2 separate regions of the Homo sapiens genome follow, and region 2 is linked to region 1. Evidence: promoter capture Hi-C in 16 types of primary human blood cells and fetal thymus (Javierre and others, 2016). All regions are on one chromosome and are shown on one strand. The core of a region is centred on a gene start or on the middle of the fragment in contact, and the rest is flanking DNA. Distances in the headings are between cores, read along the strand shown. Region 1 holds the start of IREB2 (iron responsive element binding protein 2). Region 2 overlaps LOC105370913 (a long non-coding RNA gene).

Evidence for each region. The method cuts DNA at HindIII sites, captures the fragments that hold promoters and counts their contacts. A CHiCAGO score of 5 or more calls a contact.
Region 2: a fragment that was not itself captured here is called in contact with the fragment with the promoter of IREB2 in region 1 in 1 of 17 cell types (fetal thymus); the score reaches 5.3 in fetal thymus.

Annotation. Positions count from the first base shown.
Region 1 is chr15:78,433,549-78,440,268 of GRCh38, forward strand. IREB2 (iron responsive element binding protein 2) reads left to right here and starts at 4,668. Exons shown (of 22, transcript NM_004136.4): 1 at 4,668-4,808; 2 at 6,247-6,333. The coding sequence starts at 4,790. RefSeq lists enhancers at 4,203-4,282, 4,353-4,412 and a silencer at 4,883-5,122. The HindIII fragment of the contact is 13,990 bases long and covers 2,749-6,720 here.
Region 2 is chr15:78,703,307-78,709,818 of GRCh38, forward strand. LOC105370913 (a long non-coding RNA gene) reads right to left here. Exons shown (of 3, transcript XR_932509.2): 2 at 4,682-4,799. Among named protein-coding and RNA genes, the nearest start is that of CHRNB4, 65 kb to the left of the region's middle. The HindIII fragment of the contact is 1,638 bases long and covers 2,518-4,155 here.

The DNA.
Region 1 (6,720 bases), core at 3,418-5,917:
AAAAAAGAAAAAGAATAAGAAATAATGAGGATCTTATCTCTGAAATAGCAGAGAGGGAGAGAGAGACAAGGCAAATGTGGCAAAATGTTAACAGTAAATAAATAAACCTAATTAAGGTATATATGAAGTTTTATTATAATTATCTTGCAATTCTTCTGTATTCTTGAATTTTGTTTTTCGAAATAAAATGTTTAATTTAAAAAGTAGAGATGGGCCAGGTGCAGTGGCTCATACCTGTAATCCCAGCACTTTGGGAGGCCAAGGTGGGCAGACAGCTTGAGTACAGAAGTCGAGACCAGCCTAAGGAACATAGGAAAACCCTGTCTCTACAAAAAATACCAAAATTAGCTGGGCATGGTGGCGTGCGCCTGTGGTCCCAGGAACTCAGGGGCTGAGGTGGGAGAATTACTTGAGCCCAGGAGATGGAGGTTGCAGTGAGTCGAGATCACCCCACTGCACTCCAACCTGGGCAACACAGTGAGACTCTCTCTCAAAAAAAAAAAAGGAGAGGTGAACCAGCCTGGACATTGCCCGAGACACTGATCTAAAAGGGTGCTAAAATCTCACTGGAAATGTAACTTGAAAAAAAATGTATAGTGAAAACATACCATAAGCTTCCATTTGCATAGCATTCAAAATAGGGTGTAGGGGATGAGGAAATGGCAGCCTAGGAGGAAAACAGCTGCGGTTATAAAACGGCAACAGGAAGGATCCTTGGAAATGTTCCATATCTTGACTGTAGTGATGGCCACACAAAGCCACACACGTGAACTAAATACACACGTGCATGTGCGCGCACACACACACACACACACACACACCCTACAAAGGAGTACATGTAGAACTGCCTAAATCTGAGTAAGGTGGAATGATTGTATGAATGTCAATTTGCTCGTTTTTATATTGTACTATGCTACATGGAGAAAGACTAGGTGAAGAGTATACGGGATCTTTATTACTTAGTACAACTACATGTAAATCTACAATTGTCACAAAATAAGAATGTTTAACAATAGGTAAATTTTATGATATTTAAACTAAATCTCAATAAAACTGTTAAAGCTGACTGAGATGGCATATGCCTGTAGTCCCAGCTACTTGGGAGGCTGAGGTGGGAGAATCCCTTGAACTCAGGAGTTTGAGATCGGTCCAGGCCAAATAAACAGACCTCTGTCTTAAAATAAATAAAATTTTCAAAAAGTAAATAAAACTGTTAAAAAAAAAAAAAAAGTAATGAGTCCAGCCACACGGGAGCATATCATGATTGTTCTAAGTTAGTGCTTCTCAGTGGAAGCGGGACACTGAGAAAATGGGTGTTTTTGTTTGTCACCATCATGGGGCACTTTTGGGATTCAATGAATGTTAGATTGCCTGCATTCCACACTATAGAATTACACAACAAAGAATCAAACAAGGGCCAGGCCCGGTGGCTCACGCCTGTAATCCCAGCACTTTGGGAAGCTGAGATGGGCGGATCACGAGGTCAGGAGTTCAAGACCAGCCTGGCCAACATGGTAAAACCCTGTCTCTACTAAAAATATAAAACTTAGCTGGGCATGATGGCACGTGCCTGTATTCCCAGCTACTCAGGAGGCTGAGGCAGGAGAATTGCTTGAACCGGGACCCGAGGGGCGGAGGTTGCAGTGAGCCAAGATCATGTCACTGCACTCCAGCCTGGGCTACAGAGCAAGACTCCGTCTCAAAAAAAAAAAGAATCAAACAAGACCCATACTGTCAGATATTCAAGTACATTAAACATACACACAAACATAAAAACAGTAACAACAAATTTGTTTATAATTATCTGAGCCTAGAGTTTAACCCCATATACAAGTAAAAACAAAAGTAATTTGTGTATGGTTTTAATATATACGGAATTTTCTAGGAATACAACTATTGCATAAAAAAAGCAAAGGTTTTTTTTTTTTGTTTTGAACTTTATCAAGAGTTATTCACCATTTCAGAAAATCACAATAGTGACAACACTTCCAATATTTAAGTCACTAACATATTTTCATTAGTCTTTAGAGGCCATTCATGATATATATGTACATTTTATACATATGTGCATTTACCATATATGCATTCATAATATATATTTATGCATGATATGTATGTATATATTGAATCCTTATTTTGCAATGTCAGACATAAAAAGTGTTGACCATATTCAGCTGAATATTATCTTTTTTTTTTTGAGACGAAGTCTTGCATTGTTGCCCAGGCTGGAGTTCAGTGGTGAAATCTCGGCTCACTGCAAGCTCCGCCTCCTGGGTTCACGCCATTCTCCTGCCTCAGCCTCCCGAGTAGCTGGGGCTACAGGCGCCTGCCACCACGCCCGGGTAATTTTTTGTACTTTTAGTAGAGACGGGGTTTCACCGTGTTAGCCAGGATGATCTCCCATCTCCTGACCTCGTGATCCGCCCGCCTCAGCCTCCCGAAGTGCTGGGATTACAGGCGTGAGCCACCGCCCCGGCCTTATCTTTTTTTGAGACAGGGTTTCATTCTGTCTCCCAGGTTGGAGTGCAGTGGCACAATCATAGCTCACTGTAATCTTGAATTTCTGGGCTCAAGTGATCCTCCTGCCTCTGTCTCACGGTAGCTGGTACTACAGGCATGCACCACTATGTCTGGCTAACTCTTTAAGTTTTTGTAGAGACAGGGTCTCACCATGTTGCCCAGGCTAGTCTCAAACTCCTAGCATCAAGCGATCCTGCAGCTTTGGCTTCCCAAAGTGCTGGGATTACAAGCTTGAGCTACCAACTGTGCCTGGCCCAGTCGAATATTATATGTCCTGTAAAACCAAACTCATTCGTTATAAATAGATACAAGCATCTGACTACTCAATTTTGTCATCTAATATAGACATGCCTGTGCAGCTACGTATTATAATACATATTATTTTCTAATAAATTACTTTCCTATTTTTCTCCTTTATATTACAGTTAGGTCATTAAGTAGATTATTTATCGTGTATGTAGATTATATTACCTATGAATTTCATGCTGGGATTGTAAAGGAGATGTTACAAAATATAGCAAGGTGAATAAAGGAAATATATTGGAGTTTGGGTTGACAGGGCTTGGATCAATGATTAAAGGGAGTGGATGAAGGAGTCAGGTATAATGTGTTGATTTCTGGCTTGGGCAACCAGGTGGATGGTGGCGCCATTCGCTAATACAGGCAATACAAAAGGAATAGTAGGTTTAAGGAGGGAAATGACGAGTTCAGTTTTGGAGATTTTTAGTTTGAGGTGCCTTGGGATGTGGAGGCATCCCATGGGTACTAGGATATACACCTCCGGGTTTAGGAGATAGGCTCAGGTCACAGGCAGACTGGGAAGCATCAACATATTAACTAATAACTGAAGTCAAAGGAAGTGTGAGATGGGCCAGGGAAAATGGACAGAGGGAGGAGGTACAAGGCCAGAGCCCTGGGACACATTTAATGTCCAATATATTTTTTTTTGAGACAGGGTCTTGCTGTGTTGCTCAGGCTGGAGTGCAGTGGTGCAATCATGGCTCACCACAGCCTCAATCTCCTGGGCCCAAGTGATCCTCCCACCTCAGCCTCCTGAGTAGCTGAGACTACAGGTGCATGCCACCACACTCAGCTAATTTTTAAATTTTTTTTGTAGAGATAGGGTCTCACTACGTTGCTGTGTTTGGTCTTGAACTTTTCAGCTCAAGCCATCCTCCCACTTTGGCCTCCTAAAGTGCTGGAATTACAGGCATGAGCTACTGTGCCCATCAAGTGCCCAGTACATTTAAAAGCTGGGCGGAGGAAGAGGTCTGCAGAGGAGCCTGAGATCAAGCACCCTTAGGAGAAGAAACAAAAGTAGAGTCTGAAGTCACAGAAGCTGATGGAAGAGTATTTTTCAACAATGGGAGAGAACCAGTCAAGATTGAGATATGTGAGATTAGAAAGTGGAGTTATAGCTGGCCTTGGCTAAAGGCATTTCTGGGAGTGGAAGCCAGACTGGAAGAGGATAAGAAGTGGGTGGGGGAGAGCCGAGTATGAGCGACTCTTTCTGGTAAGTTGCTGCGACAGGAGATAATGCTGGGTAGGTGGAGAACACAGGGACCGGAGGAGCTGAGGCGGAAGGATGGAGAGGCTTAAGCATGTGTTAACTGCCACTGGGAAGAAGTCGGCAATCACGGAAGCTACCGGAGGGTAAGAAAAAATTCATTCATTCAACAGTTGAGCGCCTCCCACGCGCCCGATCAGTATGGCCGCCCCCACTTGAAAACACGCGTGTGGGCCGCCCACGTCTGACAAGTTAATGCAAGGCTTTATAGTTAGGGGAAAGCGGTTCTCCTTGAGCTCTTTCTCCTAGCAGTTCCGATTCCGACCCTGACTCCAACAGACACCTTGCGGGAACGCAAACACCGCTCGAATTCATGACCCCAATAGAAAACTTAAGGCCGCAACTAAGTAACGGATCGCTGCGAAGGCCAAACTAGCCACGCCAACGCCCCCACTGGAGCCTCCCCAGCGCTCCGCCCCCGCTCGCGAGAACAGCGGCGACGGCGCGAGAAATCGCTTTCTGGTTAGCTCCGCCCCTTCCCTTTCTTTGTTTTCCTGTCCGACGATCTCGCGGGAGTTAGGCGACAAATCCCGCGAGCGCAGACCCGGGGCTGGCTCTGCTGCTCTCGCGATATTTGCGCGAGCCTGCTTCCTTCTTTCCTCCCTTGCCAGTCCGCCTGTCTTCCTCCCCGTCTTCCCTGCCCGGCCTCCCCCTTCTTCCCCCGCTGGCCCCCTCCCCGGAGGGATAATATGGTCTCCGGCGATGGACGCCCCAAAAGCAGGTCAGTTTCGGGCCTCCGAGCTGGGTCTGGCAGTTGGAAACGCGCGCTGCCTAGGCGCCGAATTCCTTGCTTTTCTCGCCTGGAGTCGCTCGGCAGGCGCCCAGGCCCTCGGGGCTCGGGTTGTGCTCCCCTCGGGGCCTGCCTGCTGGGCCGCCCTTTGAGCCTAGGCCGCGGAAGCTGGGGCTCCCGATCCCCACCCTCCTGCGCGACACCCGCAGGGCGGGCCACCCCACCGCTGGCCTTGACCCGCACCCCTCTCTCTCCGGTGGCCGCTGCCTGCTGCCAGCGGCTTCCTGGCCCCCGTCAGCAACACCAGGGGCAGGGAGAGGCCCACCGTCTTCTCCTGCCCGCCCCCCATTGGCGAGCGATGAAGGCGGGGGCCTGCGTCTCCGTGTTCGGGTCTCACGCAGCTAGATGTTGATTCCACGGTCCAGCCTAAGGCCCCTCAGTCTCTCTGTGCCTCTGGAAGCCGAATGAGGGGCAGTCAAGGTTGAACATTGGTCAGTCAGTTCTCCGACCATTTATTGCACCGCTGTCTCCTCCCCCGTCCACCTCCCTCTACAAAAAAAAAAAAAGAGAAAAAAATACTATTCATTCTGAAAATGGGCTGTGCTTATGTTTTCTCCTTTTGGATGAAAGCCTTAACAATGTTGAGGGTCCTGGCCACCCACCGCTATGAGTCTGCACAAAAGATCTGAAGGTTCTTTTCAACCTCAGGGCTGCCTCCCCGCCACTGCCCCCTAGAATGTTGGGAGCTGAGGCACGTTTAAATGAGACCTCTGGATCTTTGACTTAGTAGTTCAGCTTCAGTTCGTGCAAAACCAGAAGACTTGTCTCTTTCGGGTAGAATATGCTAATTTCCTAGAGATTCTGTTACTTTTATTTTCAGTACTAAGCCCTGGTAAGGACTTAACTGAGAAGTTTTTTTGTTTTGGTTTATTGAATGCTCTGTAAAAATCCGTCTTTTAGTTTTTTTTTTTAATCAGTCCCTCTAATGTTAATTGTGGAATTCACAAATTCCTGTCTCTGCAGTTTTCAAGACATGTCTTTCCAAAACGTCCCCGTGGATTATTTAAATCATTCTTATTGTCCCTTTCCAGGTATTCTTATCACATTTCAGGAGTGAATTATCTTACTAGTTTTTACTTGACAAATTATGGTTTAGAACTATGCTTTCCAGTGTGGTGGATACTAGCCCTGTGTGACTTTAAATTAATCAAAATTAAATAAATTAAAAATTCAGTTCCTCAGGCACGATAGCCACATTTCAGGTGCTCAATAGCCACACGTTGCTAATGGCTACTTTACTGGACAGCTCAAACATAGAATATTTTTACCATTGCAGAAAATTCTATTGGATAAAGCTAGTTTCCAGGTATTTTCAGCTGAATAAAATATTTTGTTGCTGCATTTAATGAAAATACAATTTTTTTTTCAGGATACGCCTTTGAGTACCTTATTGAAACATTAAATGACAGTTCACATAAGAAGTTCTTCGATGTATCTAAACTTGGCACCAAGTATGGTAATGTTGCTTTACATTTTCTTGGGTTTGTTTAGTCTCTAATAATGAAAATGCATTTGTCAAGCTGAGCTGAAGAAATTTTAAATGTATTTCCACCGTATTGTAACAGGTACACCTACACATACCTATACCATTTTAAAAACTCCTCCTGGGACAACTTCTGTTCAGGGAAGATGTAGGCCCACACCTTAACTTCTCATTTAAAAATCTAAGTTAATTAAGCACTAGTTTTTCCCCTCAAAGAAACCAATAATGCAGTTTTCAAACTTTTTTTTTTCTTGTTTTTGTGAAGACAGGGGTCTTGCTATGTTACCCAGGCTAGTTTTGAACCCCTGGGCCCAAATAATCCTCCCACCTCTGCCTCCCCAAGTTTTGGGATTACACATG
Region 2 (6,512 bases), core at 2,087-4,586, 270 kb after region 1:
TTCTGGAATGGGGGCCTCTCTACTCTGACTGGTGTTCTATCCTACTGTGGCTGAGCTGGTATCCAAGATGTAAGACAAAGTCCTCTTTACTCTTCCCCCTCCTCTCCTCAAGCAAAAGGAAGAAGTCAGTTTAGTTGTTGCAAGCTGCGCTGCCTGGGGTTGCGGGAGGGGTGGTGCAAGCACTCCCTTGGCTGCCCTGGCTGGTGTCTCTCTAGGTTGTGTGCCACCTGAGTCCACTGGCTCTGAGCCCAGCATGGCATCAGGACTTGACTAGGAGTTGAAGTCCTTATGGTCTAGACTGCCTTTCAAGTGTATTTAGGGCCCCAGGGCATAATAGCCTGCCATGCCAAGGCTTGTCAAAACCCAAGCCTCAAGCCTCCTAACTACTGGGATGGGTGAACCCCTCTGGGTAGGGCTGGTCTAAATGCTCCCTCCATGGGCAGGTGTCACATGAGTTCCACCTGGTTTCACTTTCTGCTGTGACAGGGCAGCACTGAGTTGAAGGCAGAGTCCCACAGTTGCTGCATTCTCCCTCCCCCAGGTGCACAGATTCTCAGCACCACAGCGGCCGCTGCTGGGAGATGGGAGAGGAATGGCCTCGGTGTTTCAAGACTGTCTCTCCTACCCTCTTCAGTGCCTCTTTCAGTGTTATGAAGTTAAACCCAGGTACTGTGAGTCCTCACCTGATATTTGGTTCTTATGATGATGCTTTTTTGGTGTAGACAGTTGTTAAATTTGATTTTCCTGCAAGGAGAATCACTGATGGAGACTGCTATTCAGCCATCTTGCTCTGCCCCTCCTCCCTCACTTAACTTTACCTCCTAAGAGCCCTGTTTCCAAATACAATCACATAGGGGTTAGGGCTCCAAGTGTGAATTTTGGGGAGACACAATTCAGTCTATAGCATTTGGACTTGGGAAGAGGGAGGAAGAGAATATTCAGAGGAAGGTCACAGTGTAAGCAACAGTATGGAGGTGGGAAAGTTCAGCTCATGGATAGGAAAAATTGATCCAAGTTGGCAGGGCCCACAGGGAGATGTGGTGGGGTGGTGAGAGGTGGCCACATCAAAAGAACCTTGAATGCCAGGCTGAGGTGGGAGGCATTTCCTGTCATGTAGAAGGTGCCATGAGGTGGTGGGGAGGGTAACAGGATGAAAGGATATTTGGGAGGATGGATCTGGCATCAGTGATGGGTAGGGGTAAGGAGTGAACAAAGCTGGAGGCCAGGAAACTGGACACATGGCCCAGAGTTCAGGGTTAGGCTCTTCAAAGGCAGTTTCCACACTGAGTTCCCATGTGGATCCAAGCATACAGGGGGTAGATGATTTGGAAAAGCAAAACCATTCTCTTCCCATTACCACACAGTTTCCCAGCTGAGCTCATCACCAGAGTCCTACAAATCAGACAGTCAACCTGCCCCAAACTCTTCCCCTAGAAGCTGTGACCCAGAAGGAGTCCTCATCGAGCTGTAGCCCAGGGACACCGCAGCCTGAGCAGGACTGCACCTGTTCCCCCCCAGGAGCCTCATCTCTGTCTGGCCTGGCTTTGGCTTCAAATGCCCTCAGCTTTGGCTTCAAAAACTGTTGAGTCAGATTCATGAGAGCTCTGGCCTTCTTCAGTTTAGGGATTTTTAAATAGTTTTTTTCAAGCAGGCAGTAGATGAGCTCTGCTTGCTTACCTCTAAGAATTGGCTAGAACTCACAGAAAGCTGTTATACTCATAGTTATGGCTTGATTACATGGAAAGGAGACAGATTAAAATCAGCCAGGGGAAGAAAGGCATAGTGCTGGGTCCAGGAGAGCACCAGGCATGGAGTGTCCATTATCCCTTCCCCATGCAGTCAGAGTGCATTACCCTCCCGGCTTTGCTATGTGCCAATACACATGGAGTATTCTCAGCCAGTGAGGCTCCCTCAAGCCTCAGTGTTCAGGGTTTTTATTGGAACTTCATCAAAGAGGCATGATTGATTGTCCATGTGGCTGCTCTCAGTTTCCAGTCTCCAGTCCTTTTAGGGGTGACCTAAAGCCTGGACTCTAAATCACATAGTCACTTTTCCTGGCTTGGCTAGTTCCCACTATCTTTTTTTTTTTTTCTTTTTTTTTTTTTTTGAGACGGAGTCTCACTCTGTCACCCAGGCTGGAGTGCAGTGGTGCGATCTCGGCTCACTGCAAGCTCTGCCTCCTGGGTTCACGCCATTCTCCTGCCTCAGCCTCCCAAGTAGCTGGGACCACGGGTGCCCACCATGACGCCCAGCTAATTTTTTGTATTTTTAGTAGAGACGAGGTTTCACCATGTTAGCCAGGATGGTCTCGATCTCCTGACCTTGTGATCCGCCCGCCTCAGCCTCCCAAAGTGCTGGGATTACAGGTGTGAGCCACCGCGCCCGGCCCCCACCATCTTATTATTAGACTATCCATCATGACCCAAGATCCCCAGGCAAAGATATTCCTATCAGGCATTACGTGTTGAAGATTACCTCCCAGGAGTCTAGGACAAAAGCCAGACCTTTTTTTGGTCAAGCTTAATTTTTTAACATGTCATCATTCTGTTATCCTTCCTATCTGTTTTATCTTCAAAATAACCCTAATTGATGGGTTATTTTGGTTATCTATAATAAACATAAGAATGTTTATTATAGATGAGATCTCAAAAGGAAGGACACTTGAGCAAAGTTGCACAGTTGATCCTTGACTCATGGTACAAGACTCTTTCCACTACTCTGAGAGCCCTGAGTCCTGAGAAGAAGATGGAAGGAAGGTGGGTATACGTGTGTGTGCACGTGTGTGTGTGTGTAAATGTATTTCTAATGAGTATGTGTGGATATATGTGTGTCTCTGTGTGTGTGTATACATGTGGAGGTCTGTGTGTCTATATGTATGTTTGTGTGTGTGTGTGTGTGTGTACACATGCTCAGGGGGAAGGTTAAAGAGAAAATCAGCAGGGTGCAGTGGTGCACACCTGTAATGCCAGCTACACAAGAGGTAGACAGGGGAGGATCACTTGAGCCTGGGAGTTTGAGAGAGAGAAAATTTCAATAATCTTCTTCTTGCAGTTAGAAGGAAAAACCTGGGGCTGAGCATAAAGAGACATAAAGCACAGCATAAAGAGGCAGAGAAATGTCTAAGGGAGAACAAGTGACCAAGAATTAATTAGTTCATCTATAAAGAAATAGAGCACTTTAGCAGCAGAATAAAACTGGAAGATAATTTCCTCTAGAGCCCTGATAATCTTTGTGAGAAAACTGTTGGTCACATTAATTGCAAAAACTTGCAGGACTCTCTGCAACAGAACTGGCTAGTAAAACCATCTTTATAAAACTCACTATGCTACAAGTGGCATTCAACTCTTTCTCAACCAAGATTTCACAAACCTATCTCCAGCTTCCAGATGGTGAGGGAAAGTGTGATGAGACTTTATGATAAATTGTGCCTGTCTCTGAGCCCATCTCCTCCCGTTGAAGAGGAGGAAAATGAGGATAGCACATTATAACCCTGCCTGACAAAAGTCACAAGATAAGCAAATAATTATTATTAAAACCAGAGAGTCCTATAATTTATTCATGAATCCCACACATTCTATATTAGATCTTCCATTTCAATTTCTTGTATTCTTTGAAGCAAATTTATAAGATTTGAATTATTCAGAAAAGCTCCCAAGCTAATATAAGAAAACACTTTAACCACAGGAAGTATCATGCTACACAATATGGTGTGGTGGTGAAGGGTGCAGGCTCTAAAACCAGAAAACCCAGGTTCAAGTCCTGGCCCTACCACCTTGGGAGAGTTACATGGTCTCTCTGTGCCTCCATTTCCCCATCTAAAATGTGGGGATGACAATAATAGTGTCTATTTCACAGAGTTGTTTTGAGGAAAATAATATATGTAAAGCACTGTGAACAGCAGTCAGTGCTATGTAAGTGTTTGCTCTAGTTATTTTAACATTTTGGATTATAAATATCTACCCTGTTATTCAGATGACAAGCATCCCTAAGCTGATAACATGATGAAGAGCTCTTGTGTTCCTTGATTTTCCCTCAGCTTTGTGAGGAAAAGAATACCACATGAAGAAGAACAACTCAAGCAGGGGTGAGAAGGAAACTTGGCTTAAGTTTGGGGGGCTTGAGTTTATTAGGCTTTTGTCTTCTAAAAATCTCCTAAGCTTCATTGATAAGATGTTTAATATCAATCTAGCTAAAAAGGACCAATATACCCCACAAAACACTGAGTTAGACATAAAAACAGAAGGGTAATAAATGAAATATGGAAAACTACACAACCAGAAAAATAAACAACTACCAGTACCCAAAACATGGCTAAATCTCACAGGATTATGTTGAGTGAAAGAAGCCAGCCACAAACCTGCACATACTGAATGATCCCATTTATATGAAGTTCAAGAACAGGTGAAACTAATCCATGGTGACAGAGGTCAGGATCCTGGTTAACTTTGCAGGGACAGCAACTAAGAAGGCGCAAGAGGGAGCCCTCTGTGCTGATGGGAACATTCTGTATCTTGAGCTGAGTGGCGGTCACATGAGTGTGCACATATGTAAATAGTAAGGAGTTGTAGCTTAAGGTATATGCACCTCGCTGTATGTAAGATACTGTCTTAGTCCATGTGTGCTGCTGTAACAAAATATCTGAGACTGGGTAATGTGTAAAGAACAAAAATGTATTTCTCACAGTTCTGGTGGGTGGGAAGTCCAAGATCAAAGCGCCAGCAGGTTTGTAGTCTAGTGAGGGCTGCTCTCTGCTTCCAAGATGGCACCTTGAATGCTGAGTCCTCCAGAGGTGAGAAACGCTGTGTCCCAGCATGGTGGAAAGAACAGAAAAGCAAAAGAAGAAAACTGAGCTAGGTCGCTCCCTCAAGCCCTTTCATAAGGTCGCTAATCCCATTCATGAGGGGGCTCCTCCCTCACGATTTAGTCATCTCCTAAAGACACCACCCCTTAATACTATCACATGGGGGTTTAAGTTCCAACATGAATTTTGGAGGAGACACAAACATTCCAACCATAGCAAATATACTTTACTAAAAAGAAAAAAAAAGGAAAATCTTGTCTCTAAACATGATATTTTAAGTGTTTATATATTTACAGCCCAATTTTCTGCTTGCTTACATAGATATTTGTGACCATGAGTGTCATTCTTAGCTGAGAAAATGTTCAGTAAATTTAAAAAAGCCTCACATTATCTATTAATATCTTACTCAGATAAGATCAAATTTCTAACCTAGATTTTAGGTTAAGATAGAAACCCATGGTCATTTGCTGCAATGTGAGAATGACACAGAGAGATATTAATTAGCAGAATTCCACTATAAAACTAAATTTAAGGGCACAGTTCTCTACTAATGACTCCTCCAGACAAATCAATTACTTGGATATCAATGAATCAACTAAAAATGGAAGTGAGAACAGTTTGAGTCCTTTTTGCAATGGATGGATGTTTACGAGACTATTAAGTGAAGACGGTTCAGAAACAAGGAGATAAATGGCATGCTAATTTGGGGTTGAATGGAGTAATGGGGTGATCTTGGAAATATAAGAATCCTGCTTAATGGGGCTTGTCTGCTTGTAATTTGATAAACTAATATATGTAAATTCAATGAGATAAAGGACATGAGCACTCAGAACAAAATTACAGGAATAAATTTAGCAAAGAGGCACCAAAGTTGAGATAAGGGTCACTGTTCCACGTCTGACATCTTTAATTCTTGAGTCATGGGGATGGTAAGCCAGAGAACAGAGTCTTCTGACTGGAAGCTAAAACCAGCCTTTGGGGTGGGTTCAGAGACACTGTTCAGACTCAAGATGCGAAAGCAGATGTTGCCCTGTTGAAAATATCCCAATTGCAAGGGCATTTTCAAAGACAGTGGTGCTTGGGGGAAAGAGAATGCTGTGTGTTTAAAAAGAAAATAAATTAAAAGAAAGAATGGAAACAAGGAAGAAAAAGTGACCGGAGGGTAGGGTTGCAATATGTTCTGGTTTGCAAGGTACAGCTAAGGTTATGTCTGTTGTGCCGGTGCAATTATAATAGTGTCCCTTTCACTCTCCGAAGAATTTGGATGATAAAGCATATGATCACCCTACCAAAGAGAGGAAATGAGCCAGACGACCCATGTGTCTATTTCAAACAGTGTGGACTGATCCGCAGCCCTGTGCCACTGCCCAGATGAGCGGTGTGCACAACCTCTGCCTTGCCCTACCCCGCCCTGCTCGGGTCTCCAGGAAGGCTGGAGCGGAACCCTCGGCTCCCGCGCTGCTCTGGTGCCACCTGCAGGTTATATGCGGGAACTGCTTCTCTCCACCCTACTACCCTCCACCCAGCCTCCCGACCCCGACCCTGGATAGCCTTGGACTTGGCCAAAAGACATTCAGAGCACACGAAGCCCTGGCTGGGGAGTGGGCTGGACCCTGCAATGAAGCCCGCGTTACAGAATCAGACGAGCCCAGCTTAAACCAACAAGGCCAAGCTCCTCCTCTTCCTACCCACTCCTGTCCTGTCTCATTTT